Linked DNA regions of Homo sapiens: all the other regions are linked to region 1. The links are contacts of gene promoters, found by promoter capture Hi-C in blood cells and fetal thymus (Javierre and others, 2016). All regions are on one chromosome and are shown on one strand. The core of a region is centred on a gene start or on the middle of the fragment in contact, and the rest is flanking DNA. Distances in the headings are between cores, read along the strand shown.

Region 1 (2,700 bases), core at 83-2,582:
TCCAGATCAGTGAGATAGGGCTGGAGGACAGTCTGTTTTTTGCTATAGTGTAGTTACCATGAGCCATTCTGGACAGGTCTTTAGAAAAGGGAATTCTCCTACCCAGTCAAATGGATGTCTAATAATTTCCTGGGGGTAAGCGTGACAAAGTTTTAAGTAGAGACATTTGGGGATGAGAAAGCCTCCTTAAGGAAGTAGTGGAACCTCCAACACCCTGAGGAGAAGGGAAAGAGCTTCGGGAAGGGGAGCTGATTCTCTGAGGCAGCGTTCCCAGGACTGGTGGGAAGGAGTGGTGACCCGCTCGGGCTCGGCGTGGACCCGGAGCGCGCCTGGCGCTGTCCGTGGTGCTGAGAGGTGGGGAGGCCAGCGTGGCGGCGGCGCTGGGCGGAATGTGGGCGAGACATCTCCGCAAGGCTTGGCGGTCCTTCCCCACGGCCCTCATCCTCTCATTGCCACCAGGCCTCCTCCCACAGCTGTTCCTGAATCCGCTGCATTGGCCTCTAAAACCAAAAATCAGGGAGAGGGGGCGACAGACTAGGAGTTTGCGCTCTCTTCCCCATGCGCTCTGCGCAGGAGTTCTCGAGTGTGCGCAGTCTGGCACGTGAGTCAGCGCGGGGTCTACGCGGATTGGTGCGGGGGAAGGGGAGAAGGATGGTCCCATTCCCCCTCCATCCTGCTTTCCCTCAGCGGTCCCCTTATTGGAAACCGGATCACAGCACGAGGAAGCCCTGGCTCGTCTCCTGGCCCAGCCTTCTCCCTGGAGCCAAGACCCCGATACCCGCAGCCCTGGTCAACTCTTTTTCTGGCCTTTCTTGCTTCTCCTGTGGCCACATAGGCCAGTTTTACCTCTCTCTGTTCATTTGTCTTTCTGACCTCTTCCCAAATCCCCAATTTTCACCTGAACCCACTTCTCGTGAGTCCAGACCCCATATGCCCAGCCTATCTGAAGCCTATGCCTCTTTCCGCTAGACGCTGTCTACCTTTTTCTCTTCTCACGTCCTTAAGCACATTCTTTTACTTCCAAGTTTCCTAGCCTTGAGGCCCCCTGCAGACCCCCACTTCTCAGGATCGCTTTCTTGGCCCTGCCCGCACCCCCCAGGGTTCCTCCTGACCGTGGGCACTAGTGTCGCTGCAGCCCCCCGGGCAGCTGTTCAGCAGCAGGAAGCAGACAAGCAGCTGGAGCCCCTCGGAGCTCCCAGGCCACAGTGGGTGCTGTATCCTCCCAGGCTCGGCGCGCTCACTCCCCGGCCAAGTCTCAGTGAAGGTAGCGGCCACGGCCGAGGGGCTGAGCGGGGCTGCAGCTTCCCACCAGCCCGCGACTCCGAATCTGTTTAACCCTCCTCGGCAGTTCAGCCAATCGTGAGCGGGCCCTGCCCCTGCGGTCGCCTCCCCAGCTCCTTCCCCTACCGCCTCCCCACCCTCATCTCTTGGAATTCCTGACCCGGCTCCTTTCGGGCATTAGCTGGGTCCCAAGAACCACCGCCTGTACTCCCAGTCCTAAGGCTGCAGAAACGGATGGCACGTAAGATACGGGTGCAAGTTGTACCTACTCAGGTTTGTTGTGAGAATCAAATATGAACAGCGATGAAACAGTAGGCACTCAAGGAATTTAGTTTATTTTATTATCCTTGACACTCTTTACTCTGGCCCACTTAAAACCCTTTAGAAATCATATAGGTTCGATCTGCTATATATATATATATAATATTATATATTATATATTATATATGGCACATCCATCCACTTTACTCCACATCCACTGCCATCGCCTTGGTCCAAACCACTGCACACTGTACTTTTTTTTTTTTTTTTTTTTGAGACAGTCTTGCAATTTCAGATCACCACAACCTCCGCTCGACCTCTACTCAACCTCAGGCTCCAGAGTAGCTGGGACTACAGGTGCACACTACCATGCCCAGCCAATTTTATTTATTTATTTATTTATTTTTGTAGAGACAGGGTTTTGCCATGTTTCCCAGGCTGATCTCAAACTCCTAGGCTCAAGCAATCCTCCCACCTTGGCCCCCCAAAGTGTTGGCATTACTGGCATGAGCCACCATGCCAGGCCTTGGACACTGTACTCTTTTAAATTGAGTTGTTGTAGTAACTAACTAGCTAACTGACCTCTTGCTTTCACTCTTGTGTACTTACAAGCTAGTTTGTGAGCTTTCTAACTCTTAGACTGGCATTTAAATTTTTTTTCATTAAGCTTAAAACATTTATTAAACTGGGCATGGTGGCTCATGCTTGTAATCTCAGCACTTTGGGAGGTCGAGATAGTGGATTACTTAAACCTAAGGGTTTGTATAGTGAACATTTGGGGTTGATACATTACAAAGGATCTGAATTATATTATTATCTTTAAAGGGTAATAGTTTGAGTTTGTTCTGGCAGGCAATTAAATTTTTGGTAAAAAGTCTTGATCCTGTGGCAGTCTGGTTAGGGAAGGAGTACTTCATCCTATTCTCAATTCTAGCCTGTATCTCTTAGTCCTGGGATATGGTGCTTATGGCTAAGGTGTGGTCCTTTTTGGATTTCAACATAACCCAAAGTCATTTACCAAAACTCTCTATTTTACGGGTCCTGAACTCCAAACTCAGTCACCCTAACACTGTGACAGCTGCCAAAATCTCTGTTCAGATATTTGACTTTTTCACTAGGTTCCTTGAAATCTCACCCTGCGCAAGTGCCATTTAGAAG
Region 2 (2,700 bases), core at 99-2,598, 190 kb before region 1:
TGCTGGGATTACAGGCATGAGCCACCCCACCTGGCCTTGGTCTTTGTCTCTTGGATCACTGGCTCTGGAGGAAACCAGGTCCTGTGAGTAGCCCTATGGACAGGCCACATAGCAAGAAATGGCACCTCCTGCCAACAGCCACATGAGAAAGCTTGGATATGAATTATCCGGATGTTACAATGACTGCGTTACCAGCTGACATATTGACTGCAACATCATGAGAGACACTGAGCCAGAATCACACCCACTAAGCTGCTCCCAGATTCCTGACCCTCAGAAACCATGCAAGATAATAAATGTGTTTTTGGTTTTTTGGGGTTTTTTGTTTTTGTTTTTGTTTTCTGAGACAGAGTCTCGCTCTTTCGCCCAGACTGGAGTGCAGTGGCACGATCTCGGCTCACTGCAAGCTCTGAGACCTCCCAGGTTCACGCCATTCTCCCGCCTCAGCCTCCCAAGTAGCTAGGACTACAGGCGCCTGCCACCACACCCGGCTAATTTTTTGTATTTTTATTAGAGACAGGGTTTCACCGTGTTAGCCAGGATGGTCTTGATTTCCTGACCTCATGATCCATCTGCCTTGGCCTCCCAAAGTGCTGCGATTACAGGCGTAAGCCACCGCACCCAGCCTGTTATTTTAAGCCATTAAATTTTGGGACAATTTGTTACACAGCAATGGATAACTAATACAGACTTTAAGGAAGTGAGGAAGTTGGCCACACAAATATCTGAAGAAAGAACATTCCAGGCAGAGGGAACAGCCAATGTAAAGGCCTAAAGGCAGTGTTAGAGTGTTAGAAAAACACTTAAGAGTGTTAGAAAAACAGCAAGAGGCCAGTGTGGCTGCAGTGGAGTGAATGAGGGAGGAAGTTGTAGGAGATGAGGTCAGAAAGGTAAGAGAGTTCTATAAGATCATATAGGGTTTTATAGGCCATGGTAAAGTCTTTGGATTTTACTCTATAAATGAAGTGTTAAGCCAGTGAAGGGCTTTGAGCAGAAGAATATCACGATGTGCCTTGCAACTTAATAAGATAGCTTTGTTGATAATAGGCCAGGAGGGGGTAGGAGTAGCTGCAGGATACAAATAAGGAGGCTTTTGCCATAATGCAGGTAGGAGATGATGGTGGCTCCAGTATGGTAGCAGCAGAGGTGAGATTACGGGCATAGTTTTAAGGTAAAGCCAACAGGATTTCCTGATGGACTTTGGCTGTAGGAAGTGAGAGGACAGCAGTCAGGATGACTCCAAGGTTTTTTCACCCAACTAAAAGTGAAAGAATGAACCTTCCATCAACTTAGATGGGAGGGGGTTGTTGGAAAAGTAAATCTGGGCATACGACTGGAAGTTCAATTTTGGACGTGTTGAATTTAAGATATTTTTTAAACTTCTTCATGAAAATGTTAAACAAGCAGTCTGGAGTTTCAGGGTAAGACCTACAGTGAAGAATAAATGTGAGATTCATCCACAAGGTGGTATTTAAAGATGTTATAGTGGAATGCCAGAGGAGCAGGCTGAAGATGTCAAAAGGATCAAATCATAAATGATCACGTGTGGCGTGCAAGGAGTTTGAACTTTATCCTGTAGGAAACCGGGAGCCACTAAAGGACTCTGAGCAAAAAGTGTCATAATCAAGTTTCAGTTTCAAAGACATCACTCTGACAAAACTACAAATTCAACTGCAGGGGAATAAGAACTGACCAGGAGACAAGTTAGGAGGCTGTTGCATGGTCAAGCCAAAAAAGGGACAGAAAGGCCAGGAACAGTGGCTCACACCTGTAATCCCAAAACTTTGGGAGGCCAAGGCAGGTGGATCACCTGAGGTCAGGAGTTCAAGACCAGCCTGGCCAACATGGTGAAACTCCATCTCTACAAAAAATACAAAAATTAGCTGGGCGTGGTGGCTCAAGCCTGTAGTCCCAGCTACTCAGGAGGCTGGGGCATGAGAATCTCTTGAACCCAGGAGGCAGAGGTTACAGTGAGCCGAGATTGTGCCACTGCACTCTAGCCTGGGCAACAGAGTGAGACTTGGTCTCAAAAAAAAAAAGCAGGGGGGGAGTGGGGGAAAAGGGAGAGAAAAATGGCTAATTTCAGACAACGGGAGGTAGAATAGAGAAGATAGGCAGATTCAAAAGACGGTCAATAAATTAGGCTTTGAAAGTAAGGACAAAGAGGAAAGTGAGTGACTCCCAAATTTCTAGCTTAGAAAACTGAATGGATGATGGTATAATTCCCCAAGATAAGGAATATAAGAGAAATAGTCTGGGGGAGTAGATAATTCATTTTGGACATGTTTAGGATGTGCTTTATGTGGGACATCCAGGTGGAAATGCCAAACATGCAGAAAGAAATATGGGCCTAAAACACAGTGGAGATATAAAATTGGTATTCAGCGATGTACCAACAATAGTTGACACTGGGGTCTAGATGAGATGACCCAGAGGAAGGAAAGTGAAGTCTCAGAGGATCAGGGACCTGATCCTGGGAAACACTAACCTTTAAGAGGCAGGCAGAAGACGGAGAGCCAGCCAAAGAAACCAATTAGAAGTGTGAACAAGCTTAACAAGATGGCAATTTTCAAGTTAAAGCATTGCCCATCTTCCCCAGGCGATATAAGCTCTAGCTTCGTAAGAGCAGCAGTGACTCTCTTCATAGTTTAAAGTATCTGCTCTAGAATCAGGCTGCAACCAGACAGGAGCTGAAGACAG
Region 3 (2,700 bases), core at 140-2,639, 220 kb before region 1:
TGCCCCAGCACCTAAACTATGGTTACCATTCTCAGACAGAACAACAAGCCCCCAACCCTCTACATCCTTGACTGATGCTGCCTAAGACTACACATCTCAATGCCAGTCTTTTCCTTCTCATTTTGGGGTTCATTTGGGCAACTGGATAATATGCCAGGGATTCTGGTTATTGGAGCCAGAACCAGAATGCTGCTGTGCTATCTCATCATCACTCACAAATACCAATTCCCAGCCCCAAATGGTCCCAAATCTTTCCTCCCAAGACCACAAAGGATAAAAAAAAAGTTTCCAAATTAAAAAACTAAAACTGGCAACAAAGGTGCCCCATGGCAGTAACCTTTAAAACTGGCCATTAAAGTTTATAAGTCAGACGGGCACCAACGTGAAGGATCAAGAAGAGAAAAACAGCCCCCTCCCTTGGGGACCCAGAGCCACAGCCTTCCCCCTAAAGCCACAGAGCTGATGTCACAAGAAGCACTTGCTGCATCAAGGGCTCTCTGTGTCCCAACTACAACCATTCACAATGCAGGCAGACTCTGCGTGCTGGAGGCGGGCTGGTGTCTGGCAGAGAATAAAGGAAAGGGGAGGGGCAAGGAGGCGTGGGTTGGGAGTATATATGAGGTAGGCAAAGGTGAGAAAGGAGAGAAAAACATCAAATCTCCTCCTAGCCCTCAGGACTGCCTGCAATTCACAGGCCAGGAGGAAACAGGCCCTGTCAGACTGCCTAAGATAGTGGTTCTCTTTTTCCACCTAACACATAAAAGGCATACCACAGATTTTCATCAGTAACGACAGTATATTATGCAATAATCCTTAACTATCTTGGGGTGGATAGTTTTTTGATATGTGCATATCAAAAATTTTTTGGTAAGGGTATGAATAGTTTGAAAAGGCTTCCAAATAATTCTAACCATCTCCCCGATTGGGTATGTACCCCCTATGAAGAATCATGAGCTTAAAGAGCCTACTTTTCCTTCCCTCCCTTCCTTCCTTCCATGTATTCAACAAATACATTTTGAGAGCTTACATGTGCCAAGCATTGTTCTATTGACACTGGAGAGACAGCAATGAACACACAGACAAAAATCCCTGCCCTCATTGAGAATCCATGTCTTCACATGGGGTAAAATCAACGTAATTAAAAAGCAGAATCTAAGGGGTGCCCACTGCACCCTGTAATCCCAGCACTTTGGGATGCCAAGGCAAGAGGACTGCTTGAGCCCAGGAGTTCAAAACCAGCCTGTGTAACATGGAAAAATCCCGTCTCTACAAAAAATATATATATATAAATTAGCCAGGTGTGGTAGGGTGCACCTGTAGTCCCAACTACTCGGGAGGCTAAGGTGAGAGGATCGCTTGAACCCCAGGAGGTTGAGGCTGCAGTGAGCTGTGTTTGCACCATTGCACTCCAGTCTGGGCAACAGAGTGAGATGCTGCCAAAAAAAAAAAAAAGTAGAAATGTGTGGTATATTGGGTTATGGTAAGTGCTATGGAGAAAAGTACAGCAGAGACAGAGACAGAAAGTGCTGGTGGGGTGGGGGTGGAGGTGGGGCTGAAATTTTAGATGGGGTGGCCGGGAAGTCCTCAATTAGAAGGTATCACTTGAAAAAAGACCTGAAGGAAGTGAAGGAATGAATCATGCAGATATCTGGGAAGGACCATTCTTAGCAGAGGGAACGGCAAGTGAGAAGGTCCTGAGGTGGGGCACCGGTCTCAGATGTTCAAGAAACAGGAAGGAGGCGGCCACCGTGGATGGAGTCCATATGCTACTGTTCATCACAGCGCTCCTCCTCCATTTCAGATCCTTTGGCTCTGAGGAGTCTGGGCTGACTGCATGTTGGACTGAACTGTCCAAGCCAGGAACATGCTCGCAAGCAGAAAGAACTTAAATAGCTTGGTGAAAAGGGACATGGGTAGATAAGATGAGCTTAGTTTTAAAGTATTTCTCTTTACTGAAACAGCTCAAAGTTCCTTTAAATAAAACATCACCCATCCTCACAAAATCCTTGTAAGGAACAAAGGTCATATTCCTTAACTAAGGACCAGAGGGGGGAAAATCATTTTAAAGATGATTTTAGAACTGGAATAGAATTTACTCGTGATACCCAGACCAATGCTCTATTATTCATAAAAGCATAGACTACTAAAAGGTGGAAGCCAGATTTATCTCACCCATTCTCCTCATTTACTCAAAAGGCAGCTGACAAAATTAGAACCCAGGTTTCTTGGATAAGGGGTTAACACTCCTTAAAAAGCAAAGTAGGGGGATGGTACAGCTTTTAAAAGAGGGGACCAGCTCTCAAATCCTGCATTCTAGAAACTCTCCTACAAGGGAAAGATATGGTGATGACATTAGCATTACAGAATACTAATAAACAGTCTTCTCTGTCCCCTGACCCCTAGAAAAAATCTAGTTATCCCACACGCTTGGCCCACTCCCCTTATCTAGATCCCTTTAGCCCCAAATGTCTTTCATGAGACAGTGTGGCCAAGCCAGTGGGCTGCAGGTTCTGAAGACCAGAATTAAGTCTACAGTGTGAATACAGACACACACACACACACACACACACACACACACACAGAGAGATACATACAGTCAGTGGGAAAGAAGGGGAAAGGAAAGCACACACAACACAACACACCAGGGCAGCTGCAGAAAACAACTGCTTGTTAAGTTAAAATTAAACTCTGTACAAATAT
Region 4 (2,700 bases), core at 15-2,514, 240 kb before region 1:
TGGCACATAGGAAGGGCTCAATAAATATTAACTGTTATTATTAATTCAATCATTAAACAAAATTGCCAAGGATATGCTATAGCATGCTGTGTCCTAAGGATAAGACAGGGTTCACTGCCCTCAAGGAGCTCATAGTCTAGATGAAGAGTGAGACACATAAACAAATAATTGTTCCTCACCTCTAGCCACACACGGGAGCCTTTGATTCCCAGTCAACAGCACTAGGTCTGAGGCCTTACTAAACAAAGCTGGATATGTAAGGAACAGCATGGGGTGGGGACAGCAGTTAACAGACTAACCGTGAATCAACAGTAGGCCCTTCTTTTCCCACAAATAGCCTACAAAAATCTAGATAGGCATAAAGACTTTCTCCTCTGAATTACTACTAAGGGGCCATCTGTGTCCCCCAACCTCTTCAAGTGACTGGTTTCTTCTCATCTTTCAAGTCTCAGTTTAAATGTCACTTCTTCTGGCCTCCTGACCATATCATCTGAAGTGCTTTTACAGCACTCTATTCATTTTCCTCAAGTGATTATACTTTTTAGTTATTCATTTACTCATTTCCTGTCTTCCCCATTAGGCTGTGAGCCCCTAGAGTTCAGGGACCATTCATCTAGCAAATATAAGTATCTACTATGTGCCAGGCACTGAAGTATGTGCTGGGAATTCAGTTTGGGGGTAGAGACATGGCCACTGCCCTCATAGAGCTTACAGTCTGTATCTGTGGAAAAAGTTTTGGGATGCAGGTTTATCCCAATTCCAGCTGAGGACTCTCTTAGGACTAGCCCAGTTAGATAGGAGCCTTTGGCTGCCAATCTCTCACTGAGTTCAAAAAGCCAGAAGCTGAAACTTGGGCGACTTCTCAGTTCTTTTTTCCGCAGTCCTAGATTCCTGTGGAGTTTAAGCTAGGGTAAACAGCATAACCTCAGAGCCATTTCTGCAAGTTCTTTCCTTATAAAGCTATTTCTATCAGCATTCTAAGGGCAAGCATGGTCGGTATCGGGCAAGAAACACATTGGCTGGGGTGGAGGGTGGGGTAGGGCATGGGGATAGGGAGGCAAGAGTCTCCCTAAGTCCTGTAGAGATGAAATGACTGAACTGGAAGTGCTGAGCCCTCAGCGCCTTTCAAATTCTATGCCCTGAATTTCTCAGATGGCTGCTTCCCACAGTCTAAGCTTCTCTACCATTGAGTCTGACTTCGTCCTAAAGGCTACTTCCTGCTAAGCTAGCCTGAGGTCTAGCAATGTTGAATTCGACTCTAGGAAATATATTCTGCTGCAAACTCTCTGAGGAAACGCCAAGGGGACACTGTTTTCCAGGACTGGGAGATAACAAAATTCAAAGGATTGTTGAAAAAGCTTCTTTAAATTTGTTATTAAATGAACAAGGGTATGTGTATATATGAAGTATGTGTGTATATATGAAGTATGTGTGTATATAAAATTAATGAATAAATCTTTGCTTAATAGCAGGAGATAATGTCCTGAGAGCAGAATCCGGGACAAAGTTTCAAGCCACATAAGCAAACAGACCTATTCATTCAAGAACTTTTTACTTGACACCCTCTCTGAGCCAGATTATTCTAGGTACAAAGAAATAAATGACTGATTGTGGGTTTAGCAAAATATGTTCAGTTCTATGATACAGGTCTATGTACAGTCTGCTTTGAGAGAAGAGCAGACCAGCCTGGGCAACATAGTAAGACTCTGTCTCTATAAAAAATGAAAACTTAGCCAGGTGTAGTGAGTGGCACATGCCTATGGTCCCAGCTACTCAGAGGCTAAGAAGGGAGGATTGCTTGAGCCTGGGAGTTCAAGGCTGCAGTGAGCTGTGATTGTGTCACTGCACTCCAGCCTGAGTGACAGAGTGAGACACTGCCTCAAAAAAAAAAAAAAATTATAGGATTACAAAGGAAACCAATTAACTGAAATGTTATTCAAATATTTTAAAACTAATCTGTAATATTATAACATATGAGCTTCTTTATTAACACATTAAATCATGAGATCTAGCAATGAGTCTAATAACCATAATTTCAAGTAGTAATCAGCAAAAGCTGTATTTCAAGATATCTGCAGCAGTATAAAATGATACGAAAGTATCTGTGATTTCTACTGGTGACAGATACTTCTAATATACAGTGTCTTTTGCTTACATTTACAATTGAAGGAAATGCTAAATTTCAGTTACAGGTTAATGAAATAAAGATGCAACTTTCCCTCTCATTCCATTCACGAAACCCTGAACTCACGAACCCAGGGTAAAAACCCCTGCTGTAAAGATGTAAAGGCTCTCATTGGGTAACAGTGGATGCATAATCAGAAAGACCACGTAGAGCCAGTTCAGAGTTAGCAGTAAGGGGAGCCAAAGCCACATGCCAGTCAATGGTCTGCAGGAGTAGAAACAAATTGGCTGTGGGGGGCAGAGATAAGAGATCTTGAGATCCCAGAGAAAGAAGCTGCCTGTCCAGTTTCTGTGAGGCATGGGTAGCCATCTGAAATTAGGTACCAAGAGACCTCCCTGTGCCTATTCAGTAAAACCCGTTTTTACTTAAGCTAATTAAGGGGATTTTTCTGCCTTACAATTAATTGCTGAGATAATACTTTAAACAAAAGTGCTCACTGAAACATGTTTGTAATAGACTATGTATATGTGTGTATATTAACAGCCTTCCAGATGAGAAATTCCTTAATTTATAAT

The links. Contacts are between HindIII fragments. The CHiCAGO score rates a contact against its expected background, and 5 or more counts as called.
Region 2: a fragment that was not itself captured here is called in contact with the fragment with the promoter of RESP18 in region 1 in 7 of 17 cell types (activated CD4 T cells, naive CD4 T cells, total B cells and 4 more); the score reaches 6.6 in activated CD4 T cells.
Region 3: a contact is called between a fragment that was not itself captured here and the fragment with the promoter of RESP18 in region 1, in 4 of 17 cell types (erythroblasts, total B cells, neutrophils and 1 more). The highest score is 7.4, in erythroblasts.
Region 4: a fragment that was not itself captured here is called in contact with the fragment with the promoter of RESP18 in region 1 in 9 of 17 cell types (erythroblasts, total B cells, naive B cells and 6 more); the score reaches 7.4 in erythroblasts.

The regions. Positions count from the first base shown.
Region 1 is chr2:219,331,412-219,334,111 of GRCh38, forward strand. RESP18 (regulated endocrine specific protein 18) reads right to left here and starts at 1,333. Exons shown (of 6, transcript NM_001441699.1): 1 at 1,113-1,333. The coding sequence starts at 1,218. The HindIII fragment of the contact is 5,862 bases long and covers 1-2,207 here.
Region 2 is chr2:219,139,352-219,142,051 of GRCh38, forward strand. The region is part of intron 5 of NHEJ1 (non-homologous end joining factor 1); the gene reads right to left. Among named protein-coding and RNA genes, the nearest start is that of NHEJ1, 20 kb to the right of the region's middle. The HindIII fragment of the contact is 2,399 bases long and covers 150-2,548 here.
Region 3 is chr2:219,109,083-219,111,782 of GRCh38, forward strand. The region is part of intron 5 of NHEJ1 (non-homologous end joining factor 1); the gene reads right to left. Among named protein-coding and RNA genes, the nearest start is that of IHH, 50 kb to the left of the region's middle. The HindIII fragment of the contact is 3,206 bases long and covers 1-2,700 here.
Region 4 is chr2:219,090,413-219,093,112 of GRCh38, forward strand. The region is part of intron 5 of NHEJ1 (non-homologous end joining factor 1); the gene reads right to left. Among named protein-coding and RNA genes, the nearest start is that of IHH, 31 kb to the left of the region's middle. The HindIII fragment of the contact is 183 bases long and covers 1,174-1,356 here.